Regions from separate parts of the Homo sapiens genome. Here regions 1 and 3 are each linked to region 2. The links are contacts of gene promoters, found by promoter capture Hi-C in human tissues and cell types (Jung and others, 2019). All regions are on one chromosome and are shown on one strand. The core of a region is centred on a gene start or on the middle of the fragment in contact, and the rest is flanking DNA. Distances in the headings are between cores, read along the strand shown. Region 1 holds the start of ZNF768 (zinc finger protein 768). Region 2 holds the start of SRCAP (Snf2 related CREBBP activator protein). Region 3 overlaps ITGAL (integrin subunit alpha L).

The links. Contacts are between HindIII fragments. The study calls those that stand out against the background at their distance.
Region 1: the fragment with the promoter of ZNF768 here is called in contact with the fragment with the promoter of SRCAP in region 2 in 1 of the 25 tissues and cell types used here (dorsolateral prefrontal cortex).
Region 3: a fragment that was not itself captured here is called in contact with the fragment with the promoter of SRCAP in region 2 in 1 of the 25 tissues and cell types used here (stomach).

Annotation. Positions count from the first base shown.
Region 1 is chr16:30,524,187-30,528,604 of GRCh38, reverse strand. It overlaps ZNF768 (zinc finger protein 768), which reads left to right and starts at 2,039. Exons shown (of 2, transcript NM_024671.4): 1 at 2,039-2,279; 2 at 2,554-4,418. The coding sequence starts at 2,192. The coding sequence ends at 4,088. RefSeq lists enhancers at 654-953, 2,534-2,593 and silencers at 1,024-1,853, 1,944-2,263, 2,284-2,333. The HindIII fragment of the contact is 23,531 bases long and covers 1-4,418 here.
Region 2 is chr16:30,697,544-30,701,602 of GRCh38, reverse strand. SRCAP (Snf2 related CREBBP activator protein) reads right to left here and starts at 2,432. Exons shown (of 34, transcript NM_006662.3): 1 at 2,361-2,432; 2 at 1,622-1,695; 3 at 725-987. The coding sequence starts at 778. LOC730183 (a long non-coding RNA gene) reads left to right here and starts at 2,543. Exons shown (of 2, transcript NR_144637.2): 1 at 2,543-2,722; 2 at 3,672-3,896. It also overlaps the pseudogene RNU6-1043P. RefSeq lists silencers at 2,412-2,641, 2,782-3,191 and enhancers at 2,361-2,655, 3,312-3,501, 3,532-3,621. The HindIII fragment of the contact is 12,049 bases long and covers 1-4,059 here.
Region 3 is chr16:30,479,004-30,482,985 of GRCh38, reverse strand. It overlaps ITGAL (integrin subunit alpha L), which reads right to left. Exons shown (of 31, transcript NM_002209.3): 5 at 3,778-3,895; 6 at 3,525-3,655; 7 at 1,402-1,547. Among named protein-coding and RNA genes, the nearest start is that of ITGAL, 8.3 kb to the right of the region's middle. The HindIII fragment of the contact is 3,748 bases long and covers 113-3,860 here.

The sequences.
Region 1 (4,418 bases), core at 790-3,289, 170 kb after region 2:
CGTGGCATAAGCTCTTGTGATTTTATTTGTAAGCCTTTATTATTATTATTTGAGACGGAGTCTTGCTCTGTCACCCAGACTAGAGTGCAGTGGCGAGATCTCGGCTTACTGCAACCTCCGCCTCCCGGGTTCAAGTGATTCTCCTGCCTCAGCCTCCCAAGTAGCTGGGATTACAGGTGCCCACCACCGTGCCTGGCTAATTTTTGTATTTTTTTAGTAGAGACGGGGTTTCACCATCTTGGCCAGGCTGGTCTTGAACTCCTGACCTCGTGATCCACCTGCCTTGGCCTCCCAAAAGTGCTGGGATTACAGACATGAGCCAGTGCGCCCCACCTGTAAGCCTTTATTTAGATAGTTTCTCTCCACTTTTTACCACTTGGCATTCTTCAAGTTCTTGTTCTCACCTCTTTTCAGGAAGGAGAGGCCATCCTTCCTCCCAAACATTCTCTTCCCTTCATTTGTCTGGGTAGGCGACAAGAAAACACGATCCATGGCTCCTGCTCACACAGGGGCATCGGGCTCGTTAACTGTCAAGAACGCTGCCAAACTTGTTTCAGCACGAAGCGTAGAAAAAAAAGACAAGAACTGGATGATATTAAGTTGTCTGTCCAGGCTCACTTCCTCAATTCAAAGCTGCGCCCGAGGCAGTGTTTCTCAGGTTCCCTTCCTCTGCAAGACTCCATTCGAGTCAGACAAGACTGGAGAGTTGTTAGATGCCTCGAAGGCCAGATGGTTCTCTCAGTCCAATTCTCCTTTGTATCACCCTCACCTGGAAGGAATCCTGCCTCCCTGTGAGGAAATCTAACAACAGGGACTAAGGCTGCCAGGGATTGAGTTAAACTCAGGCGCTGGGGAAGGTGGAGGGGAGAGGCAAGGGGTGTGAGGCTGACGAGGAGGAAGGGTGTCTGTCCTCAGATCTTCTGGCTTTCATAAAACATAATGGAGGCTAAGTGGGGGCGGGAAAAGTTTTGATGGCACAGGCCGGGCTGGAGGGGAGATGCCTGGCACCTCCCTCCCACTACCTCCTGAAGGCGCTTCTGGCCGACAGGGGAGGCGGACCCGACCACAGCACTCCCGGCCAATCAGGAAGGCGCCTGGCGTTCCCTGGCGACCATTAACGCCCAGCCGTCCGCGGGGTTGGAGGAGGCGGGGCGGCTAGAGCACGAGCCCCATCGGCCAACCGCCGGGCTTCCTGGGGCGGAGAAGCTGTGCCTCTGGGAGCCGGGGCGGGGCTGTCTCCTTGGCAACTATCCTAGCCCTCGAGGAGGGAGGAGGGAGGAGGAGGATCAGGGGAGCCGAGCTGGGTGGGGGCCGGAGGAACGGGAGCGGGCGCGCGCAGGTGCCGGGGAGCGGAGTTCCTGGAGGGGGTCCCAGGCTCAAGGACCTCGGCGAGGCCAAGGGGAGTCCGTCCCGGTTCCCGAGGCGCTGCCGGAGCTGACCCGGAGGCCCGGGAGGGGAGGGAGCGAGACACCGCCCCCGCTGGCGCCGGGAAGCGTCGCTCCTTCTCGCTGACCTTGGTCTCGCTTGTCGCCTCGCCCTTGGCCACACGCACCGACGACGCGGGGCCCGGGAGATGGACAGACGGGCCTCTGGAGGGACGGAGACCTAGAACATAGGCACACACACTGCCCCGGTAGCCCCGCGGGCTCCGGGGCGTCCGGTCCTCACCCACCCCGTGGCCGGGCCCCTCCAGCCCAGGGTTAATGCCAACGAGTTTCCACCTCCAGCGGCTCCTAGAGAGGCCGCGGCGCGAGCCGGCGGGGGGACCTGGCCGCGGACGGACACTTCCTGTGCGGGGGAGGGTGGGGGGGTGCTGGGCGGCCGTTGGACAGTGCAGCCCAGCCCGGGGCCGGGGTCCAGAAGGTGGGGGCTCGGGCGGGAGCGGGGGCCGGGGGCCGCCGGGGTAGTCGCGAAGCCCCTCATCCCCGAGGCCGCGACGCGCGGGGGCCAGTGAGGGCCACGGGGAGGCCGAGACCTTGGGAGGGGGCGGGGCCGCGGGCAGGGGAGGGGCCCGGCGCGCTGGAGAGGCGCGGGGTCAAGACGTCCGGCCTCGGGGGCCCGGGCTGGGCCGCCGAGTCCCCTGGGCGGCGCTGAGCGGGCGGGAGGCGGGGGCCCGCGGCTCGGGGCAACCGAGGCCGGGTCGCGGGATCGGCCGCCATCGCCGCCGCCGCTGCACTGGGAGCCCGCGGGGATGGAGCGGGAGGCGTTGCCGTGGGGCCTCGAGCCCCAGGATGTGCAGAGTTCTGACGAAATGAGGAGCCCCGAAGGGTACCTCAGAGGTGAGGAGGGAGCGCCCGTCCGAGGAGTGGACTTGCGCGCAGGAGAAGGGGCTGTGGCTCCAGGGAGGGAGCGAGGGCCCGGGGCTGGGACACCTGGGACTCGAAGGAGGGGCCGGCGGGGACTGGGGTGTCTTGGGTCAGCTGAGGGGGGCGTGGGAATTTCAGCACTTGTCTAGGGGCCAGCGACCCTGCATGTGAGGTGGGAGGTGTGTGGTTGCTAATGGACCAAATGACCTTCCAGGTCTCACACGATCTGGATTCTCTCATCCTGCAGGCAACATGAGTGAGAATGAGGAAGAGGAAATTTCTCAGCAAGAAGGCAGTGGGGACTATGAAGTCGAAGAGATACCATTTGGGCTTGAACCCCAGAGCCCTGGGTTTGAGCCACAAAGCCCAGAGTTTGAACCCCAAAGCCCCAGATTTGAGCCTGAAAGCCCGGGGTTTGAGTCCCGAAGCCCTGGGCTTGTGCCCCCAAGCCCTGAGTTTGCACCCAGAAGCCCTGAATCAGATTCTCAGAGCCCTGAGTTTGAATCCCAGAGCCCTAGGTATGAACCCCAAAGCCCTGGCTATGAACCTCGGAGCCCCGGGTATGAACCCCGGAGCCCTGGCTATGAATCTGAGAGCTCTAGATATGAATCCCAGAACACTGAGCTCAAAACCCAAAGCCCAGAATTTGAAGCTCAAAGTTCCAAATTCCAGGAAGGTGCGGAGATGCTTCTGAACCCCGAGGAAAAGAGTCCTTTGAATATCTCCGTAGGAGTTCACCCCCTGGACTCCTTCACTCAGGGGTTTGGGGAGCAGCCCACAGGGGACCTGCCCATAGGGCCACCTTTTGAGATGCCCACAGGGGCCCTGCTGTCTACACCGCAGTTTGAGATGCTTCAGAATCCCCTGGGTCTCACAGGAGCCCTTCGAGGTCCAGGTCGGCGGGGTGGCCGGGCCAGGGGTGGGCAGGGCCCTCGGCCTAACATCTGTGGCATCTGCGGGAAGAGCTTCGGGCGGGGCTCCACCCTGATCCAGCACCAGCGCATCCACACCGGTGAGAAGCCCTACAAATGTGAGGTCTGCAGCAAGGCCTTCTCCCAGAGCTCTGACCTCATCAAACACCAGCGCACCCACACTGGCGAGCGGCCCTACAAATGTCCCCGTTGCGGCAAGGCCTTCGCCGACAGCTCTTACCTGCTTCGCCACCAGCGCACTCACTCTGGCCAGAAGCCCTACAAGTGCCCACATTGTGGCAAGGCCTTCGGCGACAGCTCCTACCTCCTGCGACACCAGCGCACCCACAGCCACGAGCGGCCCTACAGCTGCACCGAGTGCGGCAAGTGCTATAGCCAGAACTCGTCCCTGCGCAGCCATCAGAGGGTGCACACCGGTCAGAGGCCCTTCAGCTGTGGCATCTGCGGCAAGAGCTTCTCCCAGCGGTCGGCCCTTATCCCCCATGCCCGCAGCCACGCCCGGGAGAAGCCCTTCAAGTGCCCTGAGTGCGGCAAGCGCTTTGGCCAGAGCTCGGTGCTGGCCATCCACGCCCGCACCCACCTGCCAGGCCGCACCTACAGCTGCCCCGACTGCGGCAAGACCTTCAATCGCTCCTCCACTCTCATCCAGCACCAGCGCTCCCACACGGGCGAGCGGCCCTACAGGTGCGCCGTGTGCGGCAAGGGCTTCTGCCGCTCCTCCACGCTTCTGCAGCATCACCGGGTCCACAGTGGCGAGCGGCCTTACAAGTGCGATGACTGCGGAAAGGCCTTCTCCCAGAGCTCCGACCTCATCCGCCACCAGCGGACCCACGCGGCGGGCCGGCGCTGACCTGGGGCCCCAGCAGGGGTGGGAGGTGTGGGCAGAAGATAAGGGGCCAGGGAGCTAGAGGAACCTTTAGGGAGGATAGTGGAGAAGCCGCAGGAGAATGGAGGAGCTGAGGATGCTGGAAGAAGAGAACCAGGGTGGAGGAAGTGACATGCCCTGGAGACTTGTGGGAAGTGGGTTGGAGGGAGGCCAGGCCGGCAGCGGGAGGCCCTGGGAGAAATGGAGAGAGGTCAGCGGAGGGCTGGCCTCAGCCGCGGCTCCTTGGTGGGTGCCTGGCTTGGCAACTGCTAGAGCAGGGAGGGGGGAGGGCAGGGGATTACCTAATTAGAGTGG
Region 2 (4,059 bases), core at 1,183-3,682:
AAGGTGGATACTCAGGGAATTCACAAATTCACTCCAGGACATAAGCCTTACACTGCGCCACTCAAATTCCTACCTCGGCTAAATGACAAGACTGTATGTCACAAATTTCCCCAGTTTCTCAGGAAAACTATAAATACCAACTTTACAAACATGAAAAGCTTACTGTACTGCTCACTTTGGCAACACATATACTAAAACTGGGAGGATACAGAAAAGATTAGCATGGCCCCTGTGCAAGGATGACACAATAAAGAAACCCTTTTTATAGAAAAATTTAAAAAATTAAAATAGAAAGCTGACTGTACACACACCTAGATGTGTTTAAAAGTCATGCTTTTTTTCCTACCCCACACCCTTCCTTGGTATGAGAAAGGAATGAACACTACACACCATCCATAGGCTTATCCTACTCCAGTACTGATAGAAGTTAAACTATTCTTAAAGCGTATGGTATTAGAAGCATGGTGCCACGACCTCCATTTCCAGCCTAGCCTAATTCAACCTTTTTCAGGTAACGAGGCGCTTTTACACTCTTGGAGATAATATTACACTAATGTTAAATGGAATGTGAGTATCCAACAGACCTGATATACTACAGCCCAGCCCCCGAGCACCAAAGATTCTCCAAAACTCTCCACAAATATTCCCCTGCCACATTTCTTCTGCCTCACACTCAACAATCCACAAAGCAGAAGCAGAGAAGGAACTCTTCCCACTTTCAAACCTGTGTCTGTAGGACTGGGAGCTGAGGGTGAGCAGGGGAGGGGCTGCTCTGCATGGTCCCACTCCCAGGCTCCCCCTTGGATGCCTGAAGAATGACTGGGTTGTTATCACCAGTACTGCTGGCCGAGGGGCTGGCGTCCGGCTGCAGGGCATGCTGGGAGCTGGCCTCATTCTGGGCCACCGGCCACCGGGACCCGCCTTCCAGGGCCCGGGGCCCACCAGGGCGTCCCAGCCTCCGCTCAGGTCCACCAGCCTCTGGAGCACCTAAAGTAGGGTTAAAAAAAAAAAAAAAGACAGAAATGCAGTTAAAGGGGATGAAAAAGTATTTTTAAAAAACCAGAAATAACACTGAATAAAGAGAAACACAGAAATTACAGGTTACATTTCTTGAGCACTTACTATGTATAAGATACTTTTAGTACCTGTTTGATGTGTTCTATAATCCTCACACCTACCTTAAAAACCAAGTGCTTTTCACAGCATAACAAATATTGACTTCCTCCTACACACAACGGATATAGCCATGCAGAAAGGATTCCCGACCTAAATGTAGCTTACATTCTAATATAATCTGTTTTGTAAGTTACGAAGTTAAGACCTTATGATTTGCGGAAGGTTACACAGTAAAAAAGTGATAGGAGGGCTTCAATCCACAGTCTGATGCCAAAACCAAGGAAAACCTGCTACTCTTCCTGGTAGAGCCAGGTTGACCACGTTTTCCTCAACCCACAGCCTCAGTTCTGTTGTTGTACTATAATCAAACCCTCTACAGAAAAATCACATGCAAACATTCCCATGCTTCTCTAGAGTGAAAATCCCCAATACGGACCTATAATTGCTTTATCTCAAACATTTCTCCCATTAGCATCAGCACACAAAATGGTAGCAGATCCCTCACCTGTGTGAGCTGAGACCACACCCCCTGTGAAAGTCTGCACTTCCACGGTGCCGCCGTACTGAAGGGAATCACACCTGAAACATCCATCAAAGCGTATTATTTACTCCAGTTTTTTGAGACGTTTAAATATACCCAAATCAGTTAAAAGACTAGAAACAGAAAAACTACAGTAGTAGGAAAATCTCACATTTCAGGGAAATGCAAATCATGTTTTGTGAATTCCGGAGGGACATACGATCCTGCCTGGGGGCAGGAGCAGGAAAGGAGTGAAGAAAGAAAGTTCAAAAATTTTAAGTGTAAAGGCTCCAACCACAGAATGGAAGACAAAAAAAAAATACAGCAAAAAAAAGCTGTCACATCCAGAACCTCAGAAAGGTGCTACCTGCCTGCGGGCCTTTCCAGTGAGGGCTGAACGCAGAAGTGAGAGTGGAACTCCCGGGAAGAGTCAACAAACAGGCTGGTCACAGGAAAATCCGCCCAGGATTCAGGGCAGGGCGCTGTATATCCCATACCTGCGCCTTGAGACACTTCCCCAAATACAAGAACCACAGCAAAAGGAGACTCAGGAGCAGTCAAAAGCGAGAGGCCGCACTGCCAAGAACCACGCGCCGGAAACAGGCAGTGTGAACCCGCAGGAGGCCCGGAAATGCTTCCCCAGTGTTTAAGGAAATTCCTAAACCACAGTGCCGGCTTTGATTCACTCCCTACTCCGCCACACGTTCCCAAGACCCGAGCTCACCAGAAGCCAACAAGCCTTAACTCTTGACTTCAGGTTTCGTGACCATCTCCCTAGCCCTCCCGACGGACTGACCTCGCGTGACCCCTGACCTCTGCCCAAGTTGCCACTAGCCCTGAGATAGCCCCGCCCCCTCCAGACTCCCACCCCACCCAACGTGCGCGCCGGGCGGGGGAGGGGCCCGCGCGTGCGCGGCTGGAGGCGGAGCGAGCCGGCTGCGCGCACGGCCCAGGGGCTCCCGCCAGAACCCGAGCCCACGCACACAAGGGTCGCGGGGCTGGGAAGCTCGTCATCCAAGCCCGTCAGGGAGCCCCCCCATCACCCGACCGCGAAAGGCTGAGAGAAGGGAGGGTTCGTGCCACCAGGTCCTGGTCCCCCGGCTAGATGTGGTGGGCGCGCGCCCCGACTACTCGTCCCACGCCCCCCTTCCTCTTCCCGCGCGCCCCTGAGGGGTGACTGGGTTGGTGGGCGGGCAGGAGCGCACCTGGGTCCGTCCTCTCAGGGCTCGCTCGCTCGCTCGCTCGCTCAGGCACGCGTGCGCAGAAGGGCGGGAAGGGAGAGGAGACACGCCGGGGCCCAGCGCCGGCCGGCCTGACCCCCTCAGTCTGTCTCTATGGGCGCGCGCCGACAGCCTCGCGCACCGGCCCCGGGGCCCCGGCTGAGGGTGCGCGCGCAGCACCCCGGGAAGGTGGGGGGGAGGCGGTGGCGGAAAGATGCGCGCGCAGTCAGCCGTCATGGGAGGGGGAACTGTGGGGCGTTCGCCATCTTGTCTCCCTCTCCTTACCTGCGTCCTCGGGGGCGTGCGCACCACCCCCCCTCCCGCCTAGGAGGGGGGAGGGCCCCCTCTTGGCCACCGCCTTCGCGGCCTTTAAACTCCCCTGGAGACTGCGGCTACTGCCACCGCCTTGCCTCCACTGCCTCTTCGCGCAGCACACAGATGCGGACGGTGGGTGGGAAAAAGGGCAGACGCTACTCCCAGCGAACCGCCGCTGCCGCTCCCGAGGCCTCACCAAAATGGCCGCCGCCGTCTCGGCCGCCACCACCACCACTACCACCACCACTCGCTCGGAATCGCTATCGCCGGCGCGGCCCGTCTTCTCGCGAGAGACAGTAACTGGAGGGTGGGGGAACGGGGAGGCTCGCGTGCTAGCGTAGGGTGCAGCACGGTGCGCAAGGCAGCCTGGGAGGTGTAGTCTCCCAGAGGCTGCGCGCTCGCCCTTCCTCGGAGCGCCTTTACCGTTTGCCCCTAGATCTACCTGGGGCTGCATTGCGGCTGCCAGCTCGGACCACCGCCACCTCCCTTTTTATTTACAGATCACCCAGTAAGCTGCAGCAAGTTAGCAGTGGAACCTGGGCCTCCCGATTCCCATGGCAGCCCACTTCTGTAGCGCTGCTTCGTTTTACGCGAGGATGGTTTCCTGATAGCTTTCAAACACCTTTGCCATCTCTTCGCAAACTTTCTAGATTAAGAATCCCTTTGAGAATCTGATACCTTTACCCCAGAATAGAACAATAAATAACAGCTACCTTCTACTGACACTACTTGGTGCCTTGATTATTTCTTTTAATCCTAACTGCTCCATTTTACAAACGAATTGAGGCTCAGGCGTTAAAACACAGTGACAGATCCTGAAGTCAAGATTCCTAGCCAAGCAGTCTAAGCCACAAGAATGCACTCGCTGTCATAAAATTTTACCACCTA
Region 3 (3,982 bases), core at 737-3,236, 220 kb after region 2:
GCATGGTGGTGTGTGATTGTAGTCCCAACTACTCAGGAGGCTGAGACAGGAGGATCGCTTGAGCCCAGGAGTTTGAGGCTGCAGTGAGCTAGGATCACGTCACTGCGCTCCAGCCTGGGCAACAGAGTGAGACCTTGACTCTAAAAAAAAAAGAAAAAGAAAATTCCTGTTTTGCCCACAGCCTTCCTCTGAGCAAGTTGGGTTGGCCATAGCTCTTGCTGGAACAGCAGCAAGGTGTGAACCGTCTTACCCATGAACACCTGCTGTCAAGACCTCTGGTTCTATCTTGGATGCAAAATGCTTCTCCAATCTCCATCCACACAGACATGGGCCTATTGCGGGTCCTGTTCATGGATTTCCACCCTGGTTTATACAACCATTGTCTCTCATCTGGATTTTTCAGTAGCCTTCTAACTGGCCCTATCACTTCCACCCGCCCTTGCCCCCTCTACAGTCTAATATCAACCCTGCAGCCAGAGGGATCTTTTAAAAAACATAGATCATCACTCCTCTACTCAAAACCTCTAATGACTTCTCATCTTACTCAGAGGAAAGCCAAAGTCCTCACTATGGTCTCCAAGTCACTAACCCATCCAGACCCTCATGATCTCTCTGACCTCATCACCTACTATTTTCCCCCCTCACTTATTTCTCTCCGGCCACATTGGTGTCCTGGCTCTTCTTTTTTAATTTATTTTTAATTTCTTAGAGTTAAGATCTTGCTCTGTTGTCCAGGCTGGAGTGCAATGGTGTGATCATAGCTCACTGCAGCTTCAAACTCCTGGCTCATAGGCCAGGTGTGGTGACTCACACCTGTAATCCCAGCACTTTGGGAGGGTGAGGCAGGTGGATCACCTGAGGTCAGGAGTTTGAGTCCAGCCTGGCCAACATGGTGAAAGCCTATCTCTACTAAAAATACAAAAAAAATTAGCCAGGCGTGGTGGCACAGGTCTGTAATCCCAGCTACTTGAAAGGCGGAGGCAGGAGAATGGCTTGAACCTGGGAGGTGGAGGTTGCAGTGAGCCGAGATCATGCCATTGCACTACAGCCTGGGCAACAAGAGCGAAACTCCATCTCAAAAAACAAAAACAAAAACCAAAAACCAAACAAACAAACAAAAACTTCTGGGCTCAAAAGATCCTCCTGCCTCAGCTTCCCAAAGCCCTGGGATTACAGACTGTGCACCTGGCTTAGACTTTCTCTTGGATTTAATTAGTACAGAGTAGATTTCTGTTACGTACAACCAAAAGAATCTGCAGTAAAATTGTTCCACTTCAATTCAGACAATAAACTGCCCCTTGCTGTACCTACCTACTGAGTTCCCATGCCCTGCAGCTGGAAGTGGGTAGATCACCCAGAACAAATCACAGGACACGTGCTCTCCTGCAAAAGGGAACTCACGCGACATAATTGATGGCACCAAAGGTATTGGTCAACAGCAACATGTGCTTTACATGCTTCAGCAGAGCATCAGGGTCCTTCCGTTTAACATAATCTGAGAAATCAAATTCTGTTTTGTAGCTTGTGGAAAACTGAACAGCAGCAAACTAGAAAAGGAAGGAAGAAATGACATTCAGTTATATATCCCTTTCCATTTGTCTGTTCCAAACTCTACTTCTTTTTTTTTTTTTTTTTTTTTTAGATGGAGTTTCGCTCTTGTTGCCCAGGCTGGAGTGCACTGGCACAATCTTGGCTCACTGCAACCTCTGCCTCCCGGGTTCCAGCGATTTTCATGCCTCAGCCTCCCAAGTAGCTGCGATTACAGGCACGTGCCACCACACCCGAATATTTGTGTGTGTGTGGTGTGTGTGTGTGTGTGTGTGTGTGTGTGTGTGTGTGTGTTTTTAGTAGAGACGGTGTTTCACCATATTGGCCAGGCTGGTCTCGAACTCCTCACCTCAGGTGATCCACCTGCCTCAGCCTCCCAAAGTGCTAGGATTACAGGCATGAGCCACCGTGCCCAGCCCCAAACTCTACTTCTTCTTTTTCAAAACAGGGTCTTGTTCTGTCTCCCAGGCTGGAGTGCACGGTCACAATCATAGCTCACTGCAGCCTCAGCCTCCCAGGCTCGAGCCATCCTCCCTCGTCAGCCTCCGAAGTAGCTGGGACTTCAGGCACGTGCCACCACACTTGGCTAGTTTTTATTTTTTGTAGAAATGGGGTCTTGCTATGTTGCCTAGGCTGGTCTCGAACTCCTGGCTTCAAGTGATCCTCCCGGCTAAGCCTCCCAATGTGCTGGGATTACAGGTGTGAGCCACTATGCCTGGCTCAATCTCTTCTTATGCAGGACCTGGGCAACCCAACTCCACATCCTTGCCTCAGATAATTCTTTTGAAAATGAGGCAATATACAAATAAACACAGAAATAAAATGAAATAAACCTTGCTCCCTCATGTAACACTGTGTGTTGAGCTCCTGTTTTCTGGGTCCACCTATGTCACTGATAGGGATGGGTTCCAGCAGCCATATTTCTGCTGAGTGACGCTGCTTAACTAGATACAGTTGGCTGGGCCGGGGATCAACACCTGACTGAAGCTACGCCAGCCAGAACCTCTTCTCTGAGAACTGGAAATTTGCAAAGGGAGGTGTTGGTTGAGGGGAAGGTAAAAAACCCTCTTGGAACTTTAACACATGAACTTAGGAGCTTTCCATAGGTCTATGTGGTCTAAAGGCGCTAAGGGAGCCAGTCTACGGAGACTGAGAAAAGAGAAGAAGGAAGCAAAGACGCAAAAAGAAACAGAAATGAGAACTAGCTGGGCACAGTGGCTCATGCCTGTAATCCCAGCACTTTGGGAGGCCAAGGCAGGAGGATCTCTTGAGAGATCCAGGAGTTTGGGACCAGTCTGGGCAACACAATGATAAACCATCTCTACAGAAAATTTAAAAATTAGCCACGCACAGTGGTGCACATGGGTAGTCCCAGCTAGTTGGGAGGATCATTTGAGCCCAGGAGTTTGAGGCTACAGTGAGCTATGATCGTGCCACCATGATTCCAGCCTTGGGGACACAGTGAGACCCTGTCTCAAAAAGAAAAAATGGCTGTGCACGGTGGCTCACGCCTGTAATCCCAGCACTTTGGGAGGCCAAGGTGGGCAGATCACAAGGTCAGGAGTTCAAGACCAGCCTGGCAACATGGTGAAACACCATCTCTACTAAAAATACAAAAATCAGCTGGGTGTAGTGGCAGTTGCCTGTAATACCAGCTACTTGGGAGGCTGAGGCAGGTGACTTGCTTGAACCTGGGAGGCAGTGAGTCGAGATTGTGCCATTGCACTCCAGCCTGGGCAACAAGAGCAAAACTCCATCTCAAAAAAAAAAAAAAAAAAAAAAAAAAAAAGGAAATGAGAACTAGAGAGACTCCTAGAAGCTTTCTACTCCCTGGTTCTTGTCCCTTCCAGAGGCCCAGTTATAGCCATGCCCATAGGCTCTGAGGATTCCACATACTAACATTTCCTTTCATGGTTTAAGTCAGTTCAGGTAGGCATCTATTGCATGCAACCAAGAATCCTAACTAACTTTTTTACCTGGTACGAAGTGTTGCTGAGTTTCTTCATCACATCCTTCATGAAGTCCAGAATTTTCTGAAATTCATCTGGCTGCAAGCTCATCGAACCATCAAACAGAAATACCAGGTCTACGTTGCCCTTGATACATTCTGCAGAAGCCAGACGCAAGGGACCCAGTGAAGCATCTCTGGTGTTTGACCTGCCCATGCTGGTTCTCTCTAGGGACAGCCATTTGGAGGTATTTTTACCCAATGAGTCCCCAGTTCCTTACCCTGAAAACCAGGGCGCCCCTGCAGCATGGGACCCTGCAGATTCTGGCGGAAGAGGTAACACAGGCCACTCAGATAGGTGTTCTGGTCACACGTTCGAGACAGCCCAGGGTCACAGGCCTAAAGAAAGCAAAGGCCAAAGATTTGGGTCTCCTATTTGCTATGTGTCTTTTGGGCAACATCAACCAAAACTAGGAACGTTCAGAG